Linked DNA regions of Homo sapiens: region 1 is linked to region 2. The links are contacts of gene promoters, found by promoter capture Hi-C in human tissues and cell types (Jung and others, 2019). All regions are on one chromosome and are shown on one strand. Each heading gives the region's core, a stretch centred on a gene start or on the middle of the fragment in contact. The rest is flanking DNA. Distances are from core to core; before and after follow the strand shown. Region 1 overlaps CNBD1 (cyclic nucleotide binding domain containing 1). Region 2 holds the start of CNBD1 (cyclic nucleotide binding domain containing 1).

Region 1 (6,427 bases), core at 2,285-4,784, 95 kb before region 2:
AAATGTTAAGAATGTTGCCAAACAAAGATACTACTGTGTAGAATGAGCATTTGGCTTAGTCATTGAAAGTATATAATATAAGGTTAAGAGTAGCACAGACAAAGAAAAGTATGTCTTGGTATCTGTATGTAAACTTGTGGTAAAAATGTTCTTGTAATTTACTTGGTTGACAACTTAGGTCTAAGCACCTTGAGGCACAGAAAAGAAGCATTGCCTCAAGAAGAAAGCTTTTCCATAAACACGAGGGCAAATAGTCCAACGTCCCTTATGTGAAGGGACCTTGGACTATTTTTCTTTGCCTTGTAGTGTAACCCAGATCTTTGCCAACGTTGTGGGATTGATTCAGCCTTCCTAGTGACCATCTCAGGAGAGGCTGCAAGGGTCAATCCCAGGGAACTGGGGAAACAAACCCCAGTGGTACCTTCAGCAGGGGAATCAGCTCCCTTCACTCCTCCCTATCCAGGTTCTCTTCCAAGCTTGCCTCATCTTAGAAGTCATTTTAGGCAGGTCCCAGTCTCACTCCTGCTCCTACAACAGATGTGTGGTAAACACGGTCCCATTTAGATTCGGGTCCCCTTTTCTCTTCAGGGCTTACAGCAAATTAAGGGGGATCCAAGCAGGTTTTCAGATGGCCCTGACAGGCATATATTGGCCTTCCAGAACTTAACCTAACTATTTGAACTCTCATGGAAGGATGTCATGTTACTTTTGCATCAAACCCTGACCACTGCTGAAAAGCAGGCCACCCTGCAAGTGGCAGAGAATTTTTAGGATAAGCTTTACATCTTATATAGGACCAGGGAAGGGGATGAGCCTTATCTAGTTGGAAGAATAGCAGTACCATTGGAGAACACTAAATGGGACCCCAATGATGAAACGGGAGAATGGAAAAGGAAGCCCTTACAGGTGTGCATATTGGATGGCTTGCAAGGGACTGGGACTAGACCTCTTGATTGCACTGGGCTATCCATGGTAGACCAGGGATTGGATGAGAGTCCCACTGCCTTCCTCAGAAATCTAAGAGGGGACTTCAGCCCCTGATATCAGGAGGAAGCTACAGAAACAGGCCATACGACCAGAGAGTACTATAGAGGACCTCTGGAAGTGGCCACCTTGGCCTTTTAAAATAGGATTGGGAGGCCCAAGAGAGGGAAGGAGACACAAGAAAAAGACAGAGGCTCTAATAACCAACTTGCAGGCTCACAAACCTCAGAGTCCTCACAATGCACCTGTCAACTGCTGCAAATGTAGATCATTGGAGGGCAGACTGTCCCTGAGACATGGGTGGCAAGGTCCAGATTGCCATCTCCCAAATGGTGCAGCAGGACTGACTGGTCCCAGGGTTCCTTTCGTTGACTCTGGTGGTTCAGACTGTCATTGCCATCCAGGAGCTAGGGTGATTCTAGGGATCAAGGAAAGGAGGTTGGACCTCCTCCTGGACTTGAGCAGGCCTTTCAGTTCTCTTCTCCAACCTAGGTCCGCCTCCTCTCTTAGCATGACCGTGAAGGGCATCTCAGGAAAAACCCAATCTCTTAGTTGTCACCTTCGTAGGCCAGGTCCCCAGTTACTGGGACTCCCTTTCTCTCTCCCTTGTTTGAGGAGGACTTGGCCCCACAGCTTCACCTACTTGTGATAGGGAGGCAATGGTAGAGCAGCCCCTGCCAGTTGCTAGCTGCAATTTGGCAAGGGCTATCTGGGACCAATTTAATGGGTTCATACACCCCCCTGAGGCACCTTTTTCTCCGAAGCTTCAGTTTGAAGCCCTGGAATGGAACAATAGACCTGAGGCAGATGACAGCGGGAGTCGAAGGGCACAGTGCAGGTGAGCATGACTAATTCCTGACAATTAGGCCTCCTGCTTCATGGATGGGAATATCATGCTTACATACATGGCATAGATAGGGTCTAGGGAACTCAAATGTGACGGAGAGTGGGAGGCTTAGGCTCTGCTCAGGTGCATGCCTGTCAGCTATGCCTCCAACTTCATGGGTGAAGGTTGCACTTGCACCCATGGTCAGCACCTGCACAGGTCACCGGAACTCAGGGATATAAGGTCGAAATAATTAAGAGGGATGCCTTTTCTCCCTGTCACATACCCCGGGTATTCGCTAGGAAGAGAGAGGAACAAAGGGAAGCCTTTTACTCCTCTTTCCAGATGGGTAACCAGTGAATCATTTTCAGCCTGCACTCCTCAAGTGTATCCTAAATCACTGGACTCCTTTGACCCTCAGGCTGGAGAAAGAAAATAGCTTTTTCCCCTTCACAGGACTCCAGGGTCAAAGCACTCCATGTCTCAGGGGAAGGGAACCCAGAAGCCTGACATGCCAGCAAAAGGGTAAAGGTTCTTGCCAGTCAGATTTCTAGCTTCTGTTTTGTTTTTTGTTTTTTGTGTTTTTTTTGAGATGGAGTCTTGCTCTGTTGCCCAGGCTGGAGTGTCGTGGCACCATCTCAGCTCACTGCAAGCTCTTCCTCCCAGGTTCATGCCATTCTCCTGCCTCAGCCTCTCGAATAGCTGGGACTACAGGCACCTGCCATCACACCCAGCTAAGTTTTTTGTATTTTTAGTAGAGACGGTGTTTCACCGTGTTAGCCAGGATGGTCTTGATCTCCTGACCTCGTGATGTGCCCGCCTCAGCCTCCCAAAGTGCTGGGATTACAGGTGTAAGCCACTGTGCCCGGCCTCTGACTTCTCTTTCTCTGTGCAAACTGGTAGCAGGAAGGATAAAAATCACTGTATTCTCTGCCCCTCCAAGAATTCAAATGGCCATTTGGCATGGCTAAAGTCAGGAAATAAGAGATTTAAAATGACTTTAAAAAGGGGTGCTATAGTTAAAAGTTAGCTTATTTAAAAGTAGATGTCCATGGTTATCAAAGCTATAGGTATATTTAAAAGGCCTGTATGTCTTTTCTCATGGATCTTCTTTTTCTGGAAAAAGGTTTTATCAGTCGACTGAATTAGTCTCCATTTTTGTCTTACCATTCTTATTGCACACATGAAGGGCCCCAAGATAACCTCTGAAGTCCTGGGACTTCTTGGGAAAACAAAGGAGGCATCATTGATTCATTTTTGAAAAAAACCTCTGTTTTCCTCATGGAGTGCCAGGGATTACAAGTGGATGTATCCCTCTCAAAATCTGTTCTTGTCTTCCAGCTATTCCTACTTATTAGGCCATAGAACCTGCCTGCATGTTTTCCTAGACCTGGTTCTTGAAGTGCTCCACCCCTAGGGTTAGCAATGCAAATAGGAGATTGGCACATGAAAAATCTTACAAGTACTGAATCTCCTTCAGTCTGTGTAGTTACACATGTGTTATGTGTATGATGTTTATATAAAAGAGCTCTGATTGGCTTAAAGAAAATCAAGTGCTTAGATCAACTATTTTGAAAGAAAAATAAAGCTGCAATGCCTTTTACTTCATGGCTGTCACTCTGGTGGAACAGGAAGCCTGAGAAAGCATGGCCTTACAAAGATCGTGGTAGGCCATTGCCTCTGGAGGGAGAAGACAAAGCAGCACTAGTGCCTACCTAAGGTCAGAGACATCTGACACTCTAAGGTTGGATCCCACAGGGGGACATCCCAGGGGATCCTCTGGACCTCCACCTCTCCAAACGGGATGCCCTTGGCAGAGGTTCTGAGGTCTAGTACTAAACCCTCCTTAGAATTTTCTCTCACAGTTACAATACTGTTTGGCCCCAATATTGTATGGAATCTGGAGTTTACTGTTGAATAGGAAAGTAAGATTGCATTGCATGTATCCAGGGTTTTGTGCTGCTGTTCTAAGCAGGGGGCCTGTTTTAACTTGTGATGTTCTCCTTTGGTGCTGTTTGGCCCCAGTGTTCTTTGGAGTCTGGGGAAGTTTGGCTTTTAAAAATCAAACTGTCATAGAAACCAATTTACCTGAAATTTTGGTTCACAGCCTTCATTGGATTGTCTATTGGGGCAAACAAAGTAAAACTGGTAAGCTTGTAGTGCTATCTTATGGCTAGGGTTCCAAGCTATTGGATCTTCATTTGTGTATGTATACATGTCTAGATGTGTTTATTTGTACACTTACTGTCATATGTTATAACAACATATATTGCTATATATAAACAGGCTAGCTTTAAAATTATTGGTAAAATAAAAGTAGAAATGTCTTCAAAATGTAGACATGGTCTAAATTATGCAAGTCAGAAACTAGGTTGGTGAAAGGCTTTAAGGTCATAAACTGCTTTGGCTTTTGAAAATTGTTCTGTTTGTTAGTTTTCCTTCTAACAGTCAGGACCCTGAGCTGCAGGTCTGTTGGAGTTTGCTGGAGGTCCACTCCACAACCTGTTTGCCTGGGTATCACCAGCGGAGACTGCAGAACAGCAAATATTGCAGAATGGAAGATGTTGCTGCCTGATCCTTCCTCTGGAAGCTTCGTCTCAGAGGGGCATCCAGCTGTATGAGGTGTCACTTGGCCCCCACTGGGAGATGTCTCCCAGTTAGGCTACTCAGGGATCAGGGACCCACTTGAGGAGGCAGTCTGTCCATTCTCAGATCTCCAGCTCCGTGCTGGGAGAACCACTACTCTGTTCAAAGCTGTCAGACAGGGACGTTTAAGTCTGCAGAAGTTTCTGCTGTCTTTTGTTCAGCTATGCACTGCCCCGAGAGGTGGAGTCTACAGAGGTAGGCAGGCTTCCTTGAGCTGAGGTGGGCTCCACCCAGTTCAAGCTTCCCGGCCACTTTGTTTACCTACTCAAGCCTCAGTGACAGTGGACGCCCCTCCCCCAGCCTCACTGCCACCTTGCAGTTCGATCTCAGACTGCTGTGCTAGCAGTGAGTGAGGCTCTGTGGGTGTGGGACCCTCTGAGCCAGGAGCGGGATATAATCTCCTGGTGTGCCGTTTGCTAAGACTCTTGGAAAAGTGCAGTATTAGAGTGGGAGTGTCCTGATTTTCCAGGTACTATCTGTCATGGCTTCCCTTGGCTAGTAAAGGGAATTCCCTGACCCCTTGTGCTTCCTGGGTGAGGCGATGCCCCACCCTGCTTTGGCTCACACTCTGTGGGCTGCACCCACTATCCGACAAGCTCCAGTGAGATGAACCTGGTACCTCAGTTGGAAATGCACAAATCACCCATCTTGTGCATTGCTTACACTGGGAGCTGTAGACTGGAGCTGTTCCCATTTGGCCACATCGGTAGGTCACCATCATCAAAGACCAAAGGTAGATAAAACAACAACGATGGGGAGAAACCAGAGAAGAAAAGCTGAAAATTCTGAAAATCAGAGCCCCTCTTCTCTCCAAAGGAACAAAGCTCCTCGCCAACAACGGAACACAGCTAGATGGAGAATGACTTTGACGAGTGGAGAGAAGAAGGCTTCAGATGATCAGTAATAACAAACTTCTCTGAGCTAAAGGAGGATGTTTGAGCCCATCGCAAGGAAGCTAAAAACCTTGAAAAAAGATTAGATGAATGGCTAACTAGAATAAACAGCATAGAGAAGACCTTAAATGACCTGATGGAGCTGAAAACCATGGCACAAGAACTATGTGATGCATGCACAAGCTTTAGTAGCCGATTCAATCAAGTGGAAGAAAGGGTATCAGTGACTGAAGATCAAATCAATGAAATGAAGTGAGAAGGGAACTTTAGAGAAAAGAGAATAAAAAGAAATGAAGAAAGCCTCCAAGAAATATGGGACTATGTGAAAAGACCAAATCTACATCTCATTGGTGTACCTGAAAGTGACGGGGAGAATGGAACCAAGCTGGAAAACACTCTTCAGGATATTATTGAGGAGAACTTCCTCAACCTAGCAAGGCAGGCCAACAATCAAATTCAGGAAATACAGAGAACGCCATGAAGATATTCACTAAGAAGAACAACTCCAAGACATATAATTGTCAGATTCACCAAAATTGAAATGAAGGAAAAAATGTTAAGGGCAGCCAGAGAGAAAGGTTGGGTTACCCACAAAGGGAAGCCCATCAGACTAACAGTGGATCTCTTGGCAGAAACTGTACAAGCCATAAGAGAGTGGAGGCCAATATTCAACATTCTTAAAGAAAAGAATTTTCAACCCAGAATTTCATATCCAGTCAAAATAAGCTTCATAAGTGAAGGAGAAATAAAATCCTTTAGAGACAAACAAATGCAGAGAGATTCTGTCACCACCAGGCCTGCTTTACAAGAACTCCTGGAGGAAGAACTAAACATGGAAAAGAACAACCGGTACCAGCCACTGCAAAAACATGCCAAATTGTAAAGACCATTGACACTAGGAACAAACTGCATCAACTAATGAGTAAAATAACCAACTAATGAGTAAAGTAACCAGCTAATATCATAATGACAGGATCAAATTCACACATAACAATATTAATCTTAAATGTAAATGGGCTAAATGCTCCAAATAAAAGACACATACTGACAAATTGGATAAAGAGTCAAGACCTATCAG
Region 2 (5,982 bases), core at 1,130-3,629:
GTTTTGTGAATTAAGGCATGGATATCACTGGGACCGTTAATTCTGTCCACCGAAGACATAGAGTTCTTGTAAGAAATACATGAAATAACATAACGTGCTAAATGTTTACATACTAACTACAGAAAGCACTCAATTAACAATATTCACATATAAATACAGACAGCCGGGGCGTGGTAGCTCACGCCTGTAAATCCTAGCACTTTGGGAGGCTGAGGGGGGCAGATCACGAGGTGAGGAGATAGAGACCAGCCTGGCCAACACAGTGAAACCCCATCTCTACTAAAAATACAAAAATTAGCCAGGCACACCTGTAGTCCCAGCTACTCAAGAGGCTGAGGCAGGATAATCGCTTGAACCCAGGAGGCGGAGGTTGTGGTGAGCTGAGATCGTGCCACTGCACTCCAGCCTGGGCAACAGAGCAAGACTTCATCTCAAAAATAAATAAAAATGAATAAATAAATAAATAAATACTTACAGAGAAGGTGAATATGAGTCACTAAATCCAACCTAACTCAACAAATACAAAGTATCAAGGATGTATACAATGGCTGGATTTTCTTTTTAGGTATGTAAATGTGCATTCCTATTTATGCCCACTGCATTTAAAACTCATTTATATATCCTTTGTAATTCAGGTTCAGTCATTTCATAAATTGAAAGCATTCATTACACATTGGCTTCCATGAGATCATTGTTTCAGCAGTGAGACAATCAGTGCTTGCTAAGGAAAATTATTGTCTTGCTACAGTTAGCAAAAAGACACAGTTATTAAGGCAAGCAGGGCACGTCCTCAAAGAGAAGTTGCAGACATAGAAACATCAAGTGCGAACCTCTAAAGGAACACTGGGAGCTCCACCGCTTTCCATTATGCTCTATTCAGTTCTGAGATCTAAATTGCTGCTGATTTTTCGTCTTTTAATCACTTCACAGAAGTTAAGTGTCCTTGGGAGGCACTACAGAGGGTAGCACAAATCTCATCTCATTGATTCTAAATTAATTTGATCTTTTAACTCCCAGCTACCGAGTTTCCTGGGCTTTTTAAAAATATTATTTTATGGTGACTTTTATTTTCTTTTTCACAAATAAAACATGAATAGTAGAAGCTGTGTTTCTTCAGCAAAATTGCACTTAATTCTTATTTCCACTCAAGTAGAAATAGAAAACTTTGACCAGATGCAAGATTATTTTCACTATAATACAAATGGAATTAATTTTGTTTAACATAAGGATTTTGTCTAACACTATTCAAGACATCAGTGTACCCCTTCAAGGAGTATCAACTGCCACCTGTTATACCTTTTAACCTGGAGACTATGAGCATTAATTTTTTAAAATGTATTTGGAGAAATTAACTTTCACAGGAAGGGAAAAGGATGGATGGCTTAGCTTCTTCAAATCAATACTATAAATCTGCCCAATGAATAATAAAATAAGAGTTAATGCTTTATTGAAGTTGAAAAGGATCACAAGTATTACCTTTGTTATCCAGATATTTTTTAAAAATCTTAACTAACACTGGAACTCATACATATTGCTAGTCAGAATGATGGTGTTCAAATAATAGATCTTATAAATTCGATGGCCATGAGAAGTGTTTACAATCTTAAGAAAACGTTATAGGTTTAGACTAATTACATAAAATGAGAAAATACTGTCAATTATATAAACTTTGAAATATCTAGTTCTATACTTAATTCTTATAAGTAAGACTAGAAAATAAAAAAGTTAAATAGGAATAAATTTCACAGTCAGAATAGTAGGAATTATCTTTTTTTCCTTGTCAAATTGAAATGAGAATTCTCCTAGAGAATATTAAGTATTAATTATCCCATTAAGCGTAGTAGGACCAACTCTTGGTAGGGAGTAGAAGATCTGCTAGAAAAAGGAACCTGATAGCTGGTGGAACATGTGGCCTCTCTAAATCTTTGTTTTCTTTCATCTTTAGAAATATTTCAATGTATCTGAAGCTCTAAGAGTTCGTAAAGATCCTCATTTTACAGAGAAAAAATACTTAAGACCTAGAGTACTGAAATGACTTCAAGTAGACCAAGCAGGATTTACACATCTATGTTCTTTCCATTCTTCAGCACTGTCAATAAGATTCCCAATGTCCCTATCAACCCTGAAATACCCCCAATTTTCATAGCTGGGGTAAGAACCGCTGAAAACAATGGTAGGTGAATAAGAGCATCAAAGTATTTCCCACTCACTTGGTATACTGTGAAGTGGAGGAGGAGGCACATTGTTAATAGCTGTCATGTGAGACAAAATAGCTGCTGGAAGAGAAGACATCGGCATCTTGATGGCTCAAAGGCAGATAGATGACCAGAGGCTGCTTGAGAGGCAAATGATCACTCTTTGCCTGCAGGCTCATAAAGCAGAACTTCAAGGTCCTCTCTGATAGGTTGAATCCTACGGAATCTTCTTGTTCATAGTTCTTATCCATTGTTTGTGCATTTCCAAGAGTGTCATCTAGACCAGGAAGAACTATGCTACATTTTAGTCCAGTGGAAATCATAAGGAGGACTTTATGAGCTATAGAGAGTAGCAATAATGAAGAAGGAAACTGTAGCCCACAAGGCTGATACAGCAGAATCAACAGCACTCATGAGTCTAGGTGAAATGAAAGTATTCACTTCCTTGGTCTTCCATAGTCCAGAGCCCTTTTCCTGCCTACCAAATGTTTACACTGGGTATCACAGGCCCTTTCTGTACCAGCAGTAACAGAGATAGCATATTTATACTGTTCTTCATGGCCACATTTATAGGGTAAACCATCCCTTCTAATTATCATACACCAATAAACCCACCCCAGCTTACATTTAACTATATTCTGCTAGAGTGTGGAACATGTTTTTTTGTTATTTTCTGCTGCTTCACAATAATTAAGGATAGTTACAATGGCTAGGGTTTACAATCCTAACTAATGTATCTTTTGATGCTGTGTATTATCTTCCAAGGCCTTTAGAAATAGGGTCCTGGTATCATAACTGTTAGAGTGATACGGACAGGAGACAGGGAAACACTGGGTAGAAGAGGGCAGTTCCCCAGTAAAGGCCCCACCCTCAAGCCTGGAGACCTGCGGCCCTAGATTGGGACAGGCATTCCTGTTTTTGCACCTAAAAAGTTGCCTTTTGGCCTGCAACACACCCTATCCTGTACCCATATAAACCCTGAATCCCAGGCTCCAGAAGCAGACGAAGAGATGAGACAAATAGATGAATGGCAGAATGACAGGCAGAGAAAGTGAGAAAAGGAGGAACATCTGAACACTGAGAGGAGTTCAGCCACTGTACGGCCAAACTCCAGGGGAAGATCATTTTCCCACTCCATCCCCCTTCCAGCTCCCCATCCATCCTGCTGAGAGCCACCTCCACCACTCAATAAAACCCTGAGTTCTTCCTTCAAGCCCATGTGTGACCCAGTACTTCTGGGATGCTGGGCAAGAATTCAGGATACAGAAAGCTATCACACTGGCCCTCTACCCTTGTGAAAAGGCAGAGGGTCCATTGAGCTTGTTAACATCAAGCCATCCATGGAGGGTAGGGCTACAAGGGCACACTGCAACACAATGCCCACTTGGGCTCCTGCACCTGTCCGTCTGTGTGCTCCCCCTCCCCACAGGGTTTGAGCAGCAGCGATGACCAACCAAGCAGGCAAACCACAGCCCTGTCACACATTCTGTGAGGGGAATCAGGGAACTCCCCCATTTCATCAGGTAATATACAAAAGGACTGTGGCTGTCTGATACCTGAACTGGACTAGCAGAGTGTAAACCAACCATTTCTGGAGCAACTTCATCTAGATAACATTAATAACTAGAATAGAAAACATTAATTATGTTACAAAAGTAACAAATTTATTTTGCAACAGTTTCTATTAAATTATATCTGCACAATAAATTTACTCAGGTTATAACTTTTCAATTGAATGTATTTTCCTATTTCCAGTTTTACAAACTCCAAACTCACCATAGACTCAATTTTGTTGTTGAGTCTCATCACTATTGTTTTTTTTTTTTCTGGAGACCAAGTCTCACTCTGTCACCCAGGCTGGAGTGCAGTGGCTCAATTCTGACTCATTCCAACCTCCACCTCCCGGGTTCAAGTGATTCTCCTGCCTCAGCCTCCCGGGTAGCTGGGATTACAGGCAGGTGCCACCACGCCCAGCTGATTTTGTATATTTAGTAGAGACACGGTTTCACCATGTTAGCCAGGCTGATCTTGAACTCCCGACCTCTGGTGATCTGCCTGCCTTGGTCTCCCAAAGTGCTAGGATTACAGGCATGAACCACCACACCCGGCCACATCACTATTCTTCATCTTGCATTCCTTCCACACTAGCCACCTGCCTAGCTCCCACTTCAGAATGGTTCCTTGCCATTCCAACTGTCCCCTTGTTGGTAATCCCTACTGCCATCATTCCACAGGTTTTCTAGATCCATTCTCTTCCTAGTCGCACATTTAAAACCCAAAGAAATGAAGACGTGAATTTTTCATGGATGTTAAGCAGAAGGGACTATATAAAATGCTTTTTTTCTCTGACGAACAGTTCTAATCAAACAAATGTAAGAGAGGAAGTTTCCTAAGGCCCTAAAATTGTGATGACCGATTTCCTCTCTGATTCCAAGTTAGCAGTTCTTATTTTTATTTATTTTCTAGTTATCTTCCTGCTTTTCCATATTTTCACCTTTCTCTTTTCTGTATTTCATATGTAATAAACTTTACACACTGAATGCCATATAATATCGTAGTTCATATCAACCTGGACCTTGCTTGAAAATAATTTTAAAGAAAAAATGAGAAGTGACAATGCAAGTAAACAAGAACATTAAGGAGTAAATAGCAAAATAAACAACTAAAATAGCTTACTGAATTTTATCTAAGTCTCTGTAATATTCATAATTGCGTGTGAGCATCTGCTAGTACCTGCTGATATATGTCCAGAGAAAATCCATCAAATCACAAATTCAGCTCTCCTAAATGTTTTTTGCTAGGCTTTTCAATGTATTCTGAATTCTTTTGAAATTCATTCAAAGAATAATAACATAATCACACAATTTGTCTTTGAGAGATAGCTGTATTACATTGTTTACCAATGCCTGGACAGTAAAGTCTAATTGTTTCCCAACCACTTACTTACAAAATTATCTTGGAGAAGTCACTTAATCCACCTTGGCCTCAATATCCTGATCTATGCAGGGGTAATGATAATACCTCATACAAATATTATGAATATTAAATAATGAAAAAAGGTCCTAGCACAGTACCTATAGTAATAACTCCATTTTTATTAGTAATATTACTATTGCTGAAGTAAACTTTGAAAAACTCATATGGATTAAATATTTTTAATACTTTAGTAAAAGACAAAAAGATAAAGTCATTCTGAAGAGAAACCAGAGCATAAATATTTTTAATACTTTAAATATTTTTTTAAAAGTATATTTAATATGAGTTCCATTTATTCCTGCTACACAGTCACCAGTAGTATATTACAGGTTCATTTTTCAGGATGTACCTTAAGTATTCATTCTGTATTGCAAAAACCAATAATAATAATAACGAAATTTACCATGACACTATTTCTAGATACTATTCTAGTGTCTATTAACATTTCTAGACACTATTAACATATTTAATATATCAAATATGCCCTATTTTGATTTTGAGTGTTTAATTCTGGTATTATATTTTTAACTCTATTTATTAGAAAAGATATGTCAAATTAAGATAACTGGCATAATTTTATTAAGAGATCTCAAAAGATTTTCCAAAACAATGTCCCTGTTGGTCTGAAGATACACAAGTATAACATATGTTATACCCAAGTCATTTCACTGGATAAATGTTAACTAAGCATAGTTCCAATGCTTTTATAACCCGTAGCTGATGCATGTAATGTTTAAATGGCAAAGCCCAAAGAGACAACAAGCAAAAGTCCAAAACTTCTCCTGAGCACTGGCAGATAGGCTCTCAGGAG

Evidence for each region. Contacts are between HindIII fragments. The study calls those that stand out against the background at their distance.
Region 1: a fragment that was not itself captured here is called in contact with the fragment with the promoter of CNBD1 in region 2 in 3 of the 25 tissues and cell types used here (liver, pancreas and spleen).

What each region holds. Positions count from the first base shown.
Region 1 is chr8:86,958,758-86,965,184 of GRCh38, reverse strand. All of the region lies in intron 4 of CNBD1 (cyclic nucleotide binding domain containing 1), which reads right to left. Among named protein-coding and RNA genes, the nearest start is that of CNBD1, 96 kb to the right of the region's middle. The HindIII fragment of the contact is 4,541 bases long and covers 1,264-5,804 here.
Region 2 is chr8:86,862,812-86,868,793 of GRCh38, reverse strand. It overlaps CNBD1 (cyclic nucleotide binding domain containing 1), which reads right to left and starts at 2,379. Exons shown (of 11, transcript NM_173538.3): 1 at 2,211-2,379. The coding sequence starts at 2,298. The HindIII fragment of the contact is 15,353 bases long and covers 1-5,982 here.